3 separate regions of the Homo sapiens genome follow, and all the other regions are linked to region 1. Evidence: promoter capture Hi-C in human tissues and cell types (Jung and others, 2019). All regions are on one chromosome and are shown on one strand. Each heading gives the region's core, a stretch centred on a gene start or on the middle of the fragment in contact. The rest is flanking DNA. Distances are from core to core; before and after follow the strand shown. Region 1 holds the start of MRPL39 (mitochondrial ribosomal protein L39). Region 2 has its middle 120 kb from the start of GABPA. Region 3 overlaps LOC105372757 (a long non-coding RNA gene).

Evidence for each region. The method cuts DNA at HindIII sites, captures the fragments that hold promoters and counts their contacts. A contact is called where the count stands out against the background at its distance.
Region 2: a contact is called between a fragment that was not itself captured here and the fragment with the promoter of MRPL39 in region 1, in 1 of the 25 tissues and cell types used here (lymphoblastoid cells).
Region 3: a fragment that was not itself captured here is called in contact with the fragment with the promoter of MRPL39 in region 1 in 1 of the 25 tissues and cell types used here (lymphoblastoid cells).

The regions. Positions count from the first base shown.
Region 1 is chr21:25,605,358-25,610,002 of GRCh38, forward strand. MRPL39 (mitochondrial ribosomal protein L39) reads right to left here and starts at 2,124. Exons shown (of 10, transcript NM_017446.4): 1 at 2,046-2,124; 2 at 1,092-1,298. The coding sequence starts at 2,118. RefSeq lists an enhancer at 2,069-2,188 and a silencer at 3,169-3,228. The HindIII fragment of the contact is 22,766 bases long and covers 1-4,645 here.
Region 2 is chr21:25,853,044-25,857,688 of GRCh38, forward strand. No RefSeq gene overlaps it. Among named protein-coding and RNA genes, the nearest start is that of GABPA, 120 kb to the left of the region's middle. The HindIII fragment of the contact is 4,098 bases long and covers 514-4,611 here.
Region 3 is chr21:25,799,436-25,804,080 of GRCh38, forward strand. LOC105372757 (a long non-coding RNA gene) reads right to left here. Exons shown (of 3, transcript XR_937622.2): 2 at 2,079-2,187; 3 at 716-913. Among named protein-coding and RNA genes, the nearest start is that of GABPA, 67 kb to the left of the region's middle. The HindIII fragment of the contact is 6,202 bases long and covers 1-4,645 here.

The DNA.
Region 1 (4,645 bases), core at 874-3,373:
GATATACATAAATACTTTTACCCCAATCACATTCACCCCATGCACATTCCCACTCACACATTTACCACATGTACATCTAAATGTCAACAAAAATACAACACAGAGAGAGCCAAGTGGAAAGCAGATGATAGATTAAGTTAGGCTATACAATGAAGAGGGGAGAAAGAAAAAGGCGGCAAAAAAAAGCTGATCATCTGAGGCCATGGCAATCCCTTTACACCAAAATCCTTTCTTGAGACCTGCACGGTGACTCCTCCCACCACATCACAGCCCTAGCTAAAAGGAGCAAGCAAATTCCAGCTACTTGGGAGGCTGAAGCAGGAGGAGAGCTTGAGGTCAGAAGTTCAAGACCAGCCTGGGCACCACAGCCACCCTCTCTCTCAAAAATAAAAATAAATTAGCCAGGTGTGATGGTGGGCACCTGTAGTCCCAGCTACTTCGTAGGCTGAGGCTAGGAGTTTCAGTGAGCTATGATAGTACCACTACACTCCAGCCTGGGAGCAGGGCCAGACCCTCATCTCTAAAATTAAATTAAATTAAAGGAGAAAGCACACTAGTAACAATGCACTCAGGTCTGGTCACCTTCTGCCAGAAAATTATCTAGTACCATAAACAAAGCCAGATTCAAACAAGCGCCAGGCAGGACAATCTGTGCACTACAGTGCCAACCTTGCAATACTCAGAGTACCCTCCAGAACTACAGGGACAGTGAATAGACAATAAGGTGCCAGATAAAGAACCTCTGGGAAGTCCAGGGACTTCTGCGCCCACCACATCTGGCTAATTTATTTCTATTTTTATTTTTTGAGAGACAGGGTGGCTATGGTGCCCAGGCTGGTCTTGAACTTCTGGCCTCAAGCTATCCTCCTGCTTCAGCCTCCCAAGTAGCTGGGATTTGCTTGCTCTTTTTAGCTAGGTCTGTGATGTGGTGGGAGCAGTCACCATGCAGGTCTCAAGAAAGGATTTTGGTATAAAGGGATTGCCATGGCCACAGATGACCAGAAGTAATTACAGCATCCTGTCTCCTGCACCAGTGCTTCCACACAGCTTAAGTAAAAGGGTCAAAACTGTAACCTGATTCTGCTACTTACGCATGGCACAACTGTAGGGAGTTGAAATGTTTTTATTCATCACGAAGACAGTACCGGGGTCAGTTTTCCCAACATGCTTAACTTCTATCTTCTCAGTTCGGGGAGTTAATGATAACTGCCTGGCTTTCTCTTTATTAAAGAGATCATTCCGCATTTCTGTCAATTCTGTCGGTGACAGCTGAGAAGCTGACGATGTTGCTATAAATCCTGTGGAGAAGTTACAATAAATATGAAGACTGAAAAAATGATTAACGTACTGCCAAAAGTGCGCTCAGAGGTAAAATTAAACCAATTTGTAATATTAACAAACACCAGCGGAAGAAACAGAGCTGGCCCAGATACGTGCCTCTACTTTTAAATTTGGCTCTTTCACATCAGATCGCTATTTCCCACCAATTTCCTGTGTCGTGTTTCCAATCAGTGCTTTACAATAAGGGGCAAAAAGTAACCAGGAAACGGAGTCAAAACTGGACTAGAGTCATTGGGAAGGTGAACAAAGTGGTCGGTTTGACAGGGTCTGAAGAAAAACAAGAAAATTTCAGGAAACCAAAGGTCCCACACCGAAACTATCAATATCCAGAATGAGAAATGCTGAGTTTATATCCCAAAGGCCAAATCAGGGAACCTGCCAAGGCAAGTACGAGTATTCCTTGGGAAGACATGGACAGATGTGCACGGAACGTGCGCTGCTTCCCAGAGGCGGGCCCAAGCTCCTCCCGCGGCCTGGCTCCGACCCCTGGCCCCGACCCCTGCCCTTGCCCCTGCCCTCCGCCAGACCCTCGTTCCCATAAATTAGTCCTCCCAAGCTGTGCAAGAGCGACCGCCGCGGAGGGACTAAGAAACCCTCCTCCTTCCTCTGCCCCGCGGGACCTCCCCGGCCCCGCCTCAGACCCAATCTAGACAGACACCACTATCTAGGCCTCGCTCCCTGTCCCTACGGCCTCTGAAACTCACTCCATTTGATCCCGCCACCGGGTGCGACCAGCCAGAGCCGCAGCGCCCGGGAACCCATGGCCAGCGCCTCCATAGCAGCGGTGAGAACCGTCGCGCGCAAGTCCTTCTCCGCCCTCCTCCCCCGGAAACCGAACGCGCACTCGGAGTTCCGCAGGACAGGTCTGTTCCGGACCCAGCACTCAGACTGCTCGCCTCCACCGGGGGGCGTCAGGCCTCGCTGGGGATTCAGTGGCTGAGACCCCGAGACTCGGAGCCGGGGCGCGTTACCTGTGCTCGATACCTGGGCGCGGTCACCTACCCAGAGGTGCAGGGCCCCCAGGGCGGTCGGCCTGCCGCCCACCACGTAGGCTCTGCAGGGAAACAGAGTTCCACAGGCGTCGTTGCCCTCCGCCTTCAGCCCTCCGCGGGTTCGATCCCGGCCACCCAGGTGAAGCGCTTGCTTCCCTAAAAGAATATATGGTTTTCTTGGCGGGGGCGGGGGTGGGGGGGAATGGGGAAGGCGTCTTCTATTTTGTCAGCGATGACATCCTCTAGCGCGTGGCTTAACTTTCAATTGTGCCGGGTAGGTTCTTAGTTCGGCTGGAGTGGGTCTGCACCCCGGTTCTCCCCTTAGCTGTGGTAATAGAGGCCTCGGAACACGTCCCCTTGACTTTGGAGAGGACGTTGTAATTCCTAAGAGCTCTTTACAAATTTTCTAGTTTAGTTTATATAGTATAGGATGTATAGGAGAAGGCATCCCGGGGCAGAATTTTTGTCTCTAGTTCACTGATGTATCCCAAGCGCCCAGAACAGAGCACAGCGCAGTCAGCGCTCAACAGATGTTTCTTGAATGAATGAATGAATGAATGCCCTTGCAGGCAAACTTCAGCTCATTGTCTAATTTTTCTGTCCTACCAGGACGTGAGTGTTATTTGAAGTAAGCACTCTGTAGGTACAGGATGGAAATATTTTCATTTACAGTAGTTTAATTCTGTGGCTTTACTTAAGGGTGTCGAATTCAGCCTTTCCCCCACTCTGTCCTTTGCCTTGCAATTGGAATGCGCCGCCACCAGGTGGAAGTGCCGCCTAAGGTACAAATATGACCCTGCGCCACGATAGATCGACCGTCTCCTTGGCCCAAATGTTACACTCACAACCACTGCGCCAGGAAAGTGTAAGTATCTTCACTTTTTAAAATGGGAAATGTAAGTGACGGAGCTTGGATTTACATCCAGTCTACATTTTACCAGGCTACATTTCATTTAAGATCCTAATTCAAACCACGAAATGTACATATATACATATAGTGTTGGAGGGCGGGTGTATCTTTTGCTTCCTCAAATTTGCATACAGTTCCCATGAAAGCTGTCTGTTTCATCGGCCTTTTAGAGCCTGTACCCATTTAACCTTACCTAGAAACACTCTAGTGCCCTTAGAACATCTTAGAGCCACATTTAAGCAAAGCCTCTGAACATAAACTTAAGCAAGTTTGATCACAAACCCATTGGAGGCAGGTAATTGGAGTTCACCGGTATGAGAAATTAACCTAGTTGAAAGGTTGTCACTAGTGATAATGGCCAAAAAATACTATGTGCCAATCATAGGGCTTGGTTTATTAATTTTCACAACCTACCTGAGCAATTGGCATAATAATCTTCATATTCCAGGAAAAGAAATTCAGGTTTTAAGAGCTTGAGAGACATACCCGAGGTAAATCTTTGGCCAAGAATTCCCCCCAAATATTTTCTTACTCTGAATCTTCTTTATCTTGCCTTCTTTATCAACCAGCTCCCCAAATCTTAGTCTCACTCTGTCAATGTCTCTGCCAAATAAAAAGTATCAAGTCTGTAACAGTAAATATCTAAGATAAGCCTGGATCATTACTGTGCCAGAAAGCCTACAACTAACTATAAAATACAGACAAACAGAAACATGTTAAAAAGGACGGCGGACCAAGCTCGAAGGTCCTCCCGCTGTCCAAATTTGGGAGAGTTTGCATAACAAAAAGAATAATGCTGAAATATTATGACATGTATATTAAAAATTCATGAATCCGTAATGACACTCAAGAATAAATCAGTGTAGAAAGAGTGAAGAGAGTTTTCTGTACAAAAGAATGCCAGATAATAAAAGTCATAGGAATAATAGAATAGGGAAAATCACCATTCTGCATCTACCAATGTAACCATTGGTACAGGAAGGGATCGTCAATAGATGCTAAAATCAGTAGAGAAAGTTTGTTGAGGATCAGGGATATAGTCACATAGTCTCTAAGTATCACCTCACATATTACTGACAAAATACAAATGGATAAGTGAAACTTTTCAATGGAGAAATCTGGTGGATATCATCATCAAGTGGTCAAACTTATCATCACCCAAAATGAGACAATCTGACATTATTTGTGCTTCTTGGTTGTGATATAAACAATATTATCTATGGAGTATTCCTAACATAAATATTTAACCTGAATCTAAAGAATTATGAGGAAATCAGGTATATCCAAAAAGTGATATATTCTACAAAACAACTGACCTAAACTCTTCAAAAATGTAAGTTTTATGAAAGATGAACCCCCAAATAGTTAATAAACTGTCCTAAATTAAAGGAGACTAAAGAAA
Region 2 (4,645 bases), core at 1,313-3,812, 250 kb after region 1:
GACCCCAGGAAGATTTAAATAGTATTCCATGGCTTAGTTTCCTCATATGTCAGGTGGGAATACAAAGAGCAGCTACTCATAGGGTTGTTGGAAGAATTTAAAAAATAATTTGTATAAAAACACACATTGGTCCATTTTGTGCTGCTATCATAGAATACTACAGACTGAATAATTTTTAAACAGTTTAAGTTTATTTGGCTCACGGTTCTGGAGGCTGGGAAGGCCAAGACTGAGGGTCTGCATCTGGTGAGAACCTTCTTGCTGCATCATAACATGGTAGAAGGCATCACATGGTGAGAGAATGCAAGAATAAGAAAAAGTGAAGGGTGCTGAACTCACCTTTTATAAAGACACCACTCCCTTGATAATGAACCCACTCCTGCAATGACAACATTAATCCATTCATGAGGATGGAACCCTCATGACCTAAACACCTCTCATTAGGTTCTGCCTCCCAACACTGCTGCATTGGAGATTACGTTTTCAACACATGAACTTTGGGGAACACATTCAGACCATAGAATAACATTTAGTGAAGTGTCAGGCACATAACAGATATTCTACAATGTCAGTTATATTAATATTAAACTGCTTGTTTTCATCATGTGCCATGTTTTTCTATTCTTTGTCTTGCTGTCTTTTGTTTTCCTTTGTGTAAAATGTTCTTGCTCTGCTTCACTATGGAACAGTGGTTGACAGCATGGGCTTTGGGTGAGATTAAAACAGGTTTGGATTCAGACACTTCCATGGATTAACTGTGCAACATTACAAAGAGTGCTCAAGAAGTGATTATTATTATCCTATGTACCCTTCAGGATTCAGCTCAGGGGAAATCATCTCTGTGCCAGTTATGAGGCTATTACCTTTTGGCATCAAATCTATCCTTCCATAGTTGGCATTTTGATGCTGGGGCCAGGATTCTGCAACCTGCATTTTTACTTTGCCTGCAGGCTCCGTGTTAGGCTCCCTCTACTTGGGAAGGAAGACAGAAGCAGCAGGGCTGAGGGAGGAAGAAGGGACTTCCACCTCCTGTTTGTGTCCTGTGTGCCTCCTGCCTGCTGCCTGTTCCTACTAGGCTGTTAGTTCTTGTTTTATCTTTTCAAAAGACAGAGATGAGGGTGAGGTCAATGAAGCATCTGCCTCAGGAACAAAATTTAAGGGAACACTAATACTAAGGAATCAGGATAAATTACTGTATATTCAAATATAATATTTTAAAAAATCAAAATTAAATGAAAAAAAACCCATAATGAACAAAATATCAAAATTTTAGTAGAGACCAGTGCCCGCTGAGCCACATTAGAGCCTGGGGCCACTGGTTTTAATAAAAACAAACTCATCAATAATATATTCAAAATCTACTTTGTTGCTAATTTCATTTTTAGTTGAGAGAATTACTGTGTTTGACAATTTCTCTTGTCCAAGAGATGATCTTTAATAATTTTTACTTAGCTTAAGCTGATACAGAGTGATAACAAATTAGCTTTTGGCATAAGTAAAATATTAAACTTAAAATAACACTGTGGGCTGGGAGTAGTGGGAGTAGTGGCTTATGCCTGTAATCCTAGCTCTTTGGGAGGCTGAGGCGGGTAGATCACTTGAGCCCAGGGGTTGAGGCCAGGCTGGGCAACATAGCCAAACCTTGTCTGTACAAAAAAATACCAAATTAGCTGGGTGTGGTGGCACATGTCTGTAGTCCCAGCGACTCAGGATGCTGAGGTGGGAGAATTGCTTGAGCTCAGGAGGCAGAGGTGGTTGTGAGCTGAAATTGTGTCACAGCACTCCAGCCCGGGCAACAGAGCAAGACTTCATCTCAGAAAAATGGAAAATAAAAATAACATTGTGAATTTTAATACACCTACTTTTCGGACTTTCAATATTTTTCTTTTTTCTTTTTCTTTTTTTTGAGATGGAGCCTCCCTTCATTGCCCAGGTTGGAGTGCAGTGGCATGATCTCAGCTTTGTAACCTCTGCCTCCTGGGTTCGAGCAATTCTTCCACCGCAGCCTCCTGAGTAGCTGAGACTACCAGTGCACGCCACCACGCCTGGCTCATTTTTGTATTTTTAGTGGAGACCACACTGTGTTTTACCACACTGGCCAGGCTGGTCTCGAACTCCTGACCTCAAGCGATCTGCCTGCCTCGGCCTCCCAAAGTGCTGGGATTACAGGTGTGAGTCACTGTGCCCGGCCAGTATTTTTCAATTACTTTAATGTTCTGGAAAAAAATTATCTTAAAAAATATACAAAATTCCCAGCCAGGTGTGGTGGCTCACGCCTGTAATCCCAGCATTTTGGGAGGCTGAGGTGGGCGGATCACAAGGTCAGGAGATCGAGACCATTATGGCTAACATGGTGAAACCCCGTCTCCACTATAAATACAAAAATTAGCCAGGCATGGTGGCGCGCGCCTGTAGTCCCAGCTACTCAGGAGGCTGAGGCAGAAAAATGGCGTGAACCTTGGAGGCGGAGGTTGCAGTGAGCAAAGATTGTGCCACTGCACTTCCAGCATGGGCAACAGAGCGAGACTCTGTCTCAAAAAAAAAAAAATATATATATATACATACACACACACACACACACACACACACACACAATTATGTATCTTTCTTTGCCTCAGCTCCCTGTGGTTCACCACAGCACTGCCTTTTCACTTATCTAGTTCTCAAGTTTATATGTAGGTAACTATTCTTTGATGCCCTTATAAGTTACACGACCCTGAGTGGTCAGCATCCCCCAACTTCTTAGAGGGACAAGTGGCGTGCAGCCACCCGAGATTGAGCAATAACAGGTCTCTTCTTTTTATGTGGCTCTTCCACCTACACGTGCCTACCTGCCAACTAAACTTGCACATGTACTGTAGTCTTCCTTATCCCCAAAATGCAGCTTGCAGATGGAACGAACAACTGCCAGTCCCCCTCATGACACCAACACGACAAAAAAGAGTCATCCCACTAATCCCTTTACTTGTGGATTTAGGACTTTCTGCCTCCACTATTGCACTTGGAACTGGAATAGCAGGCATCTCAACCTCTGTCACAACAGTCTGCAGCTTCTCTAATGACTCCTCTGCTAGCATTACAGATATATCACAAACTTACCCCAAAATCTTACTTCAGTCTAATCTCTCCCACTTCAGGTTCCTGTGCCACCCCTAATCCTGCTCAAAGCAGCCCTGAGAAACGTCGCCCATCACCCCTCCATACTGCCCCCAAAATTTTTACCCCAAGTTTTCATTACTCTTTCTCGTTTTATTTCTTCATTATTAACATAAAAAGGAACGTAAGGTCCTCTGAGCTGGCCACACCATGGTAAAGCCAAGGCATTCCCCGCCCCACCCTCCCCCCATGATAATGTACTTTGTGATATTCCCCCTCCTTGTGAATGTACTTTGTAACATTCCTCCCTGCTATTTTGACAATACATCCTCCCCGCCCTTGTGAAGGTACTTTGTAACGTCCTCCCTGCCCTTGAGAATGTACTTGTAACATCCATCCCCTGCCCGCAAAAATTGCTCCTGACTCCACCGCCTATCCCAAACCTGTAAGAACCAATGATAATCCCACCCTTCTCTGACTCCTTTCTCGGACTCAGCCCTGCACCCAAGTGAATAAACAGCCCTGTTGCTCACACTAAGCCTGCTCAGGTGGTCTCTTATACGGACACACGTAACAATATTAAGTTCTCTCTGTGATTTCTACCTCCTGAACAGATTCTGACAACCTCAAAGTGCAGAGTGGATTTCTTCCTGTTCTCTTTCCCTCTCTTGGGCACTTCCCCACATTTATACTTTGCTAATTTTCTGTATTCCAAGAAATATAGTCCTCCCTGCCCTGCACAGGCATTCATTTGTTCCTGTGCAAATTCAATCCATTCTTCAAGATCCATCTCATATGTCATGAAATCATTCTTTACCCTGCACCAAATGAAATGTTTCCTTATTTCATGGGACCATAGAGCTGTACTGGCATCCATACCATCTTACTGTACCTTGTTTTGTTGCTATTTGTGCATATATCCTATTCCGCCCCGTCCTCCCATCTGAGTTGTAACTTTGAAGATCAGGGACTGATCTTCTGGTCTTTCTCATCTTTGAACATTTCCTATTTGGTGAGGTCAGGAGCTTTGGAGCACTAGTCACAGAGAGAACTGGAGAAACAGCTGGGTCATGAAACACCGGGCTTCTGCACATTGGTGGGAAGCAACACCAGTAGGTGTTGAAGTTAGTTTTCTTTACATTCCCAGTGATCTCAAAGCTTGCTTCCTTTTTTGCCATTTCTGCCTTGATGCTCAGTTTTGGTCCTGAAAGGAACGATTAACTTTTCTTCTTTCCTTAGCCTGCTGAGCACAGGGTGGCATTTAAAACAGTTGAGAGCGCTCTCTCCCCTGAATTAGAAAGAGAGTGATTTCCAGGAAGCAGAAGTTCCCTTGGGATGTTTGCCAGTGGGAGTCAAACAGCCCTGTGTGAATGGCTTTGTGAGCCAAGACCTTCTCTTCACAGAAGTGATGTGATGCTGGCAGGACCCTTTAATGAAGGGACCATGGTAATTGAGATCAGTGGGGATATTCTGCTTACTTCTATAGCAATCAAAACACCTCCTACAAAATCAAAACATTAGGAACAGCCCATCCTCAGCCTCCCACTGG
Region 3 (4,645 bases), core at 776-3,275, 190 kb after region 1:
ATTTTAGTCACCATTCCAGGTCTCCTGTTATCTGAATAGTGTCTTGTCTGATAGACTAAACTTACACACCATTACTATTGTTGATAATGCTAATAAACTAGAAATCAATATAATGAACTTTAGCCTGAAATTCCTTAAATATAAGTCTTTGCATTATGCCCAAGGTATTTTTATTGTATTGTCTTAAAATTTAGATTTTAACATTTCGTTAAGTTTAACGTAAGAAATGTATTCTTTAAGAAAAAACTTCCACTTTGGATGTTTTTTTTGGAAGAAAAATGCCAGGGACATCATCATACCTAGAGAGATTTAAAAACAGAATGAAGCTAAAACCAAAAATTTGGTTTTATACATTTTTTTGAGATGGAGGTTTTGCTTATTGCCCAGGCTGGAGTGTAATGGCATGATTTCGGCTCACTGCAACCTCTGCCTCCCGGGTTCAAGTGATTCTTGCCTCAGCCTCCTGAGTAGCTGGGATTACAGGTGTGCGTCACCACACTTGGCTAATTTTTTTATTTTTAGTAGAGACAGGAGTTTCACCATGTTGGCCAGGCTGGCCTCAAACTCCTGACCTCAAGTGATTCGCCTGCCTTGGCCTCCCAAAGTTCTGGGATTACAGGTGTGAGCCACCGTGCCTAGCCCAAAAATACGTTTTTATTACAGAAAAAAAGTTGGTTTCTTTGGTACAGATTTTTTTCCCCCATAACAACTTGCTATAAAAAAGTAAGACTCACCTCTCTTCTTCCAGCAACCCCCAGGGAATAAGATTATCCATCCAGTAGAGAATAGAACTAGGAAAGATAAATCCCTCTTTGACTTCTGATATTCTATTTTTCTGATGTTTTCTGTACCTCCATTACTGGTTTGACATAATATTTGGCCTTTGAGTTTTTAACTTTTCCCAGTTGTCATTCTTGAGAAAGTGAAAAGATAATAAGTTTCAACATAAATTTGGAGTAAGCTCCAGTTTTCACACAAACACAAATCACAAGGCACTTACAATGTTTCACGAGCTACAAGTCTTTTAAAAATACCACCTATTAGCCATTGAACACAGGGCTGTTACAAACTTATTTATCAGAGGACATAGTTGCTATGCTCTCCATATAACAACAGTTTCAAAAACTTGCAGCCATTAAAACTACATTTTTTTGGCCGGGCGCGGTGGCTCATGCCTGTAATCCCAGCACTTTGGGAGGCCAAGGCAGGTGGATCACCTGAGATCAAGAGTTCGAGACCAGCCTGGCCAACATGGCGAAACCCCATCTCTACTAAAAGTACAAAATTAGCCCGGCGTGGTGGCACGTGCCTGTAGTCCCAGCTATTCAGGAGGCTGAGGCATGAGAATCGCTTGAACCCAGGAGGCAGAGGTTGCAGTGAGCTGAGATCACACCTCTGCACTCCAGCCTGGGTGACCAAGTGAGACTTCGTCTCAAAAAAACAAACAAACAAAAACCTTTTTTTCCTCTCAAATCTTTTGATCCTGAATTAATACAGAATCTTATTCAAGTGGATGCTAACTCCATTGTGTGGAACTTTTTTTCTTTTCTTTTTTTTTTTTTGGACAGAGTCCTGCTCTGTCGCCCAGGCTGGAATACAATGGTGGAATCTCTGCCTACTGCAACCTCTGCCTCCCGGGTTCAAGCAATTCTCCTGCCTCAGCCTCCCGAGTAGCTGGCATTACAGGCCCCCGCCACCACGTCCAGCTAATTTTGGCATTTTTAGTAGGGACGGGGTTTTGCCATGTTGGCCAGGCTGGTCTCGAACTCCTGACCTCAAGCGATCCCCCTGCTTCGGCATCCCAAAGTGCTGCGATTACAGGCGTGAGCTACCGAGCCCAGCCTCTTTGGGACATTTCTTCTTTTCTAAACATACAGCAGTGGTGGTGAAAATATAAAATGAAGATATAAAAAGGCATAGTGATGCTCAAAACCCAAATTAGGGTCTGTGTAGACTGGGAAGCAGCACTTGGACAGAGACAGATGAGTGAGCTGAAGATCCAGGACTGTGGTTGTGGGTCGGAGTTGGGCTCTGTCGGGATAAATCGCTCCGCAGAAGACGGGCTAGAGTCTGCTCACCATTGAAGGAAAGGCCAGTGCGGTTTTTCTGCCCCTGAAATGTTATTCAGAACTCCTGCTGCTGACACTTTACCACTCAGGTTTCTGCGACAGTTGGGTTTCTGTGGACCTGAAGAAGAGGGAGGACACAGACTCACAAGCCGGAACGGCATGCGACGAGCCCCCCAGAGGCCCATAACTGAACTGCAGTGTCTCCAGCCGCGCCCTGTGCAATGATTTGGTTCTGCATTGCGCCCCCTAGAGGTGAGTGGAAGCAATGTCCAAGCTGTGGGCAAGTAGGATTGAGTACCCGAAGGGAGTGAAAGCAAAAAGCAAAACGCAAAAACAGCCAAGGAGCCTGCAAACCAAATATTGAGAATGCATGAAGAAATGCAATGCCAAGAAAGAAAACTGCAAGATCATCATCAAGTAAATGTGGGTCAGATAAAAATAATAGGACAATCTGAAAGAAGACTTTCACATAAATATTTAAGGTACTTCAAGGGAAAATTAAGAGAAATATTCTAAAAAAAAAAAAGTAAAAGGTAGAGAAAAAAATGTAAGACAAAATAGGCATAAATAAACCAACTATGGGTAAACATGAAAAATAACTGATTAGAAATATGAAAAATAAAAATCATAAATATACCTTAAGAAATTGGATAAAGTATATTGGACATAATTGAAGGAGAAAATTAGTTGATGAAACCATTCATGCAGAAATAGTGGATAGATGGAAGGCTTTCCCCATGTATTCAAAAGAAGGTCCAGAAAAGAAAATGGAGGGAAGAGTAGAGAAATTATATTTAAACAGTGACTAGCTAAGGCTTTCTCAGAATCAAGTTCAAACACAAGTTTTTAAATTAGGAGAGGGCTGGGTACAGTGGCTCTCACCTGTAATCCTAGCACTTTAGGAGGCTGAGGCAGGAGGATTGCTTGAGCCCAGGAGTTCGAGGCTGCAGTGAGCCATAATCACATTACTGCAACACTACACTCCAGCATGGGCAACAGAGTGAGATTTTTGTCGCAAAAAAAAAAAGTAAAAGTTAAAACATAAAATAAATTTACTAGAAGGGTAGTTCAAGTACCAAGAATAATGAAAAATAAACCAAAATAAGACACATTATAGTAAAACTAGGAAAATTTAAGTTACTGGGAAAAAAGATTACCACATATTAATAACTGAAGTTATTATCAGCAAAGATAGATGCATAGAGTGAAATAGTATCTTAAATAACCTTAAAGGCCATAATTATTAGCCTAGTGTTTTATACCCAGAGAATGAGGGCTATACTAAGAGTTGGCCACAGATGTCTTCTTAATTAAAAACAATACTGGTTGGGCATGGTGGCTAATGCCTGTAATCCCAGTACTTTGGGAGGCCAAGGCAGGCAGATCACAAGATCCAGGGGTTCGAGACCAGCCTGACCAACATGGTGAAACTCTGTCTCTACTAAAAATACAAAAATTAGACGGGCGTGGTGGCACATGCCTGTAATCCCAGCTACTCAGGAGGCCAAGGCAGGAGAATCGCTTGAACCTGGGAGGCGGAGGTCGCAGTGAGCCAAGATGGCACCACTGCACTCCAGCCTGGGTGACAGAGCGAGACTCCATTTCAAAAAGAAAAATAAAAAATAAAATAAAAACAATACTAACAACAAAAAACTATTAAAGGATATACTTCAGCAGGAAAAAATCTGAACCCAAAGAAAAGGCATTGAGATACAAAAATACTGTAAATATGGAAACTGATAAAATATTTTGGTGAGAATAATATGGACTATGTAAATAAAATTATACCTCTAAGCAAGAAGAAAATGAAAGAGCAGAAAAGCAATAATGAAGCAAATAAAAAGTATGGTGATCAGGAAGATCAGGAAAAGAAAAAGCAAAGAATGAGAATAAGAAAATAGAAACAATTCCAGCTGTGTAAATAATCACTAACGGTAGACAGATTAAACTCACCTTTTAAAGAGACTGAAATGATCAGAATGGATAATAAAGCAAAATCTAGCTGCATGTTGCCTACAAGAGGCATAGGTTAGAATTTTAAAAATAAAGGGATGTATAGTTATGCAAAATGGGAACAGTGAGTGAGAAAAGGGTGCTAAATACCTCCTTGCACATTTTTTGCTGTGGCAAGTTTCTGTGAATATATAGTTATTTCAAAATAGTTATCAAAAAGGGGAGTGGATAAAAAGCTATAGCATTCAAGTATCAACCGAGATAAAGGGGCATAGCAATATTAATACCATACAAAATCGAATATAAGACAAAAAGAATTTAATAGGGATAAAAAGATCAGTCCATAATAATTGAAAGAACAATCCACTGAGAAAATATAATAATTGAGAACCTGAATATACCTATAATAAAACCCAGAACTGTATGAAACAAGTTCTTATGGAATTACCAGGAGAGAGAAAACCACATAGTAGTAAGATTCCAGTATATCACTATCAGAATCTGATAAATTGGACCAAAATTAGTAAGGATGAGATTTACAAAATACATTGGCTTTATCTGATAGATACCTAGAATTCTCTCTCTGGCAAGCAGACATACATTTTTAGAGAGTATTTACAAAA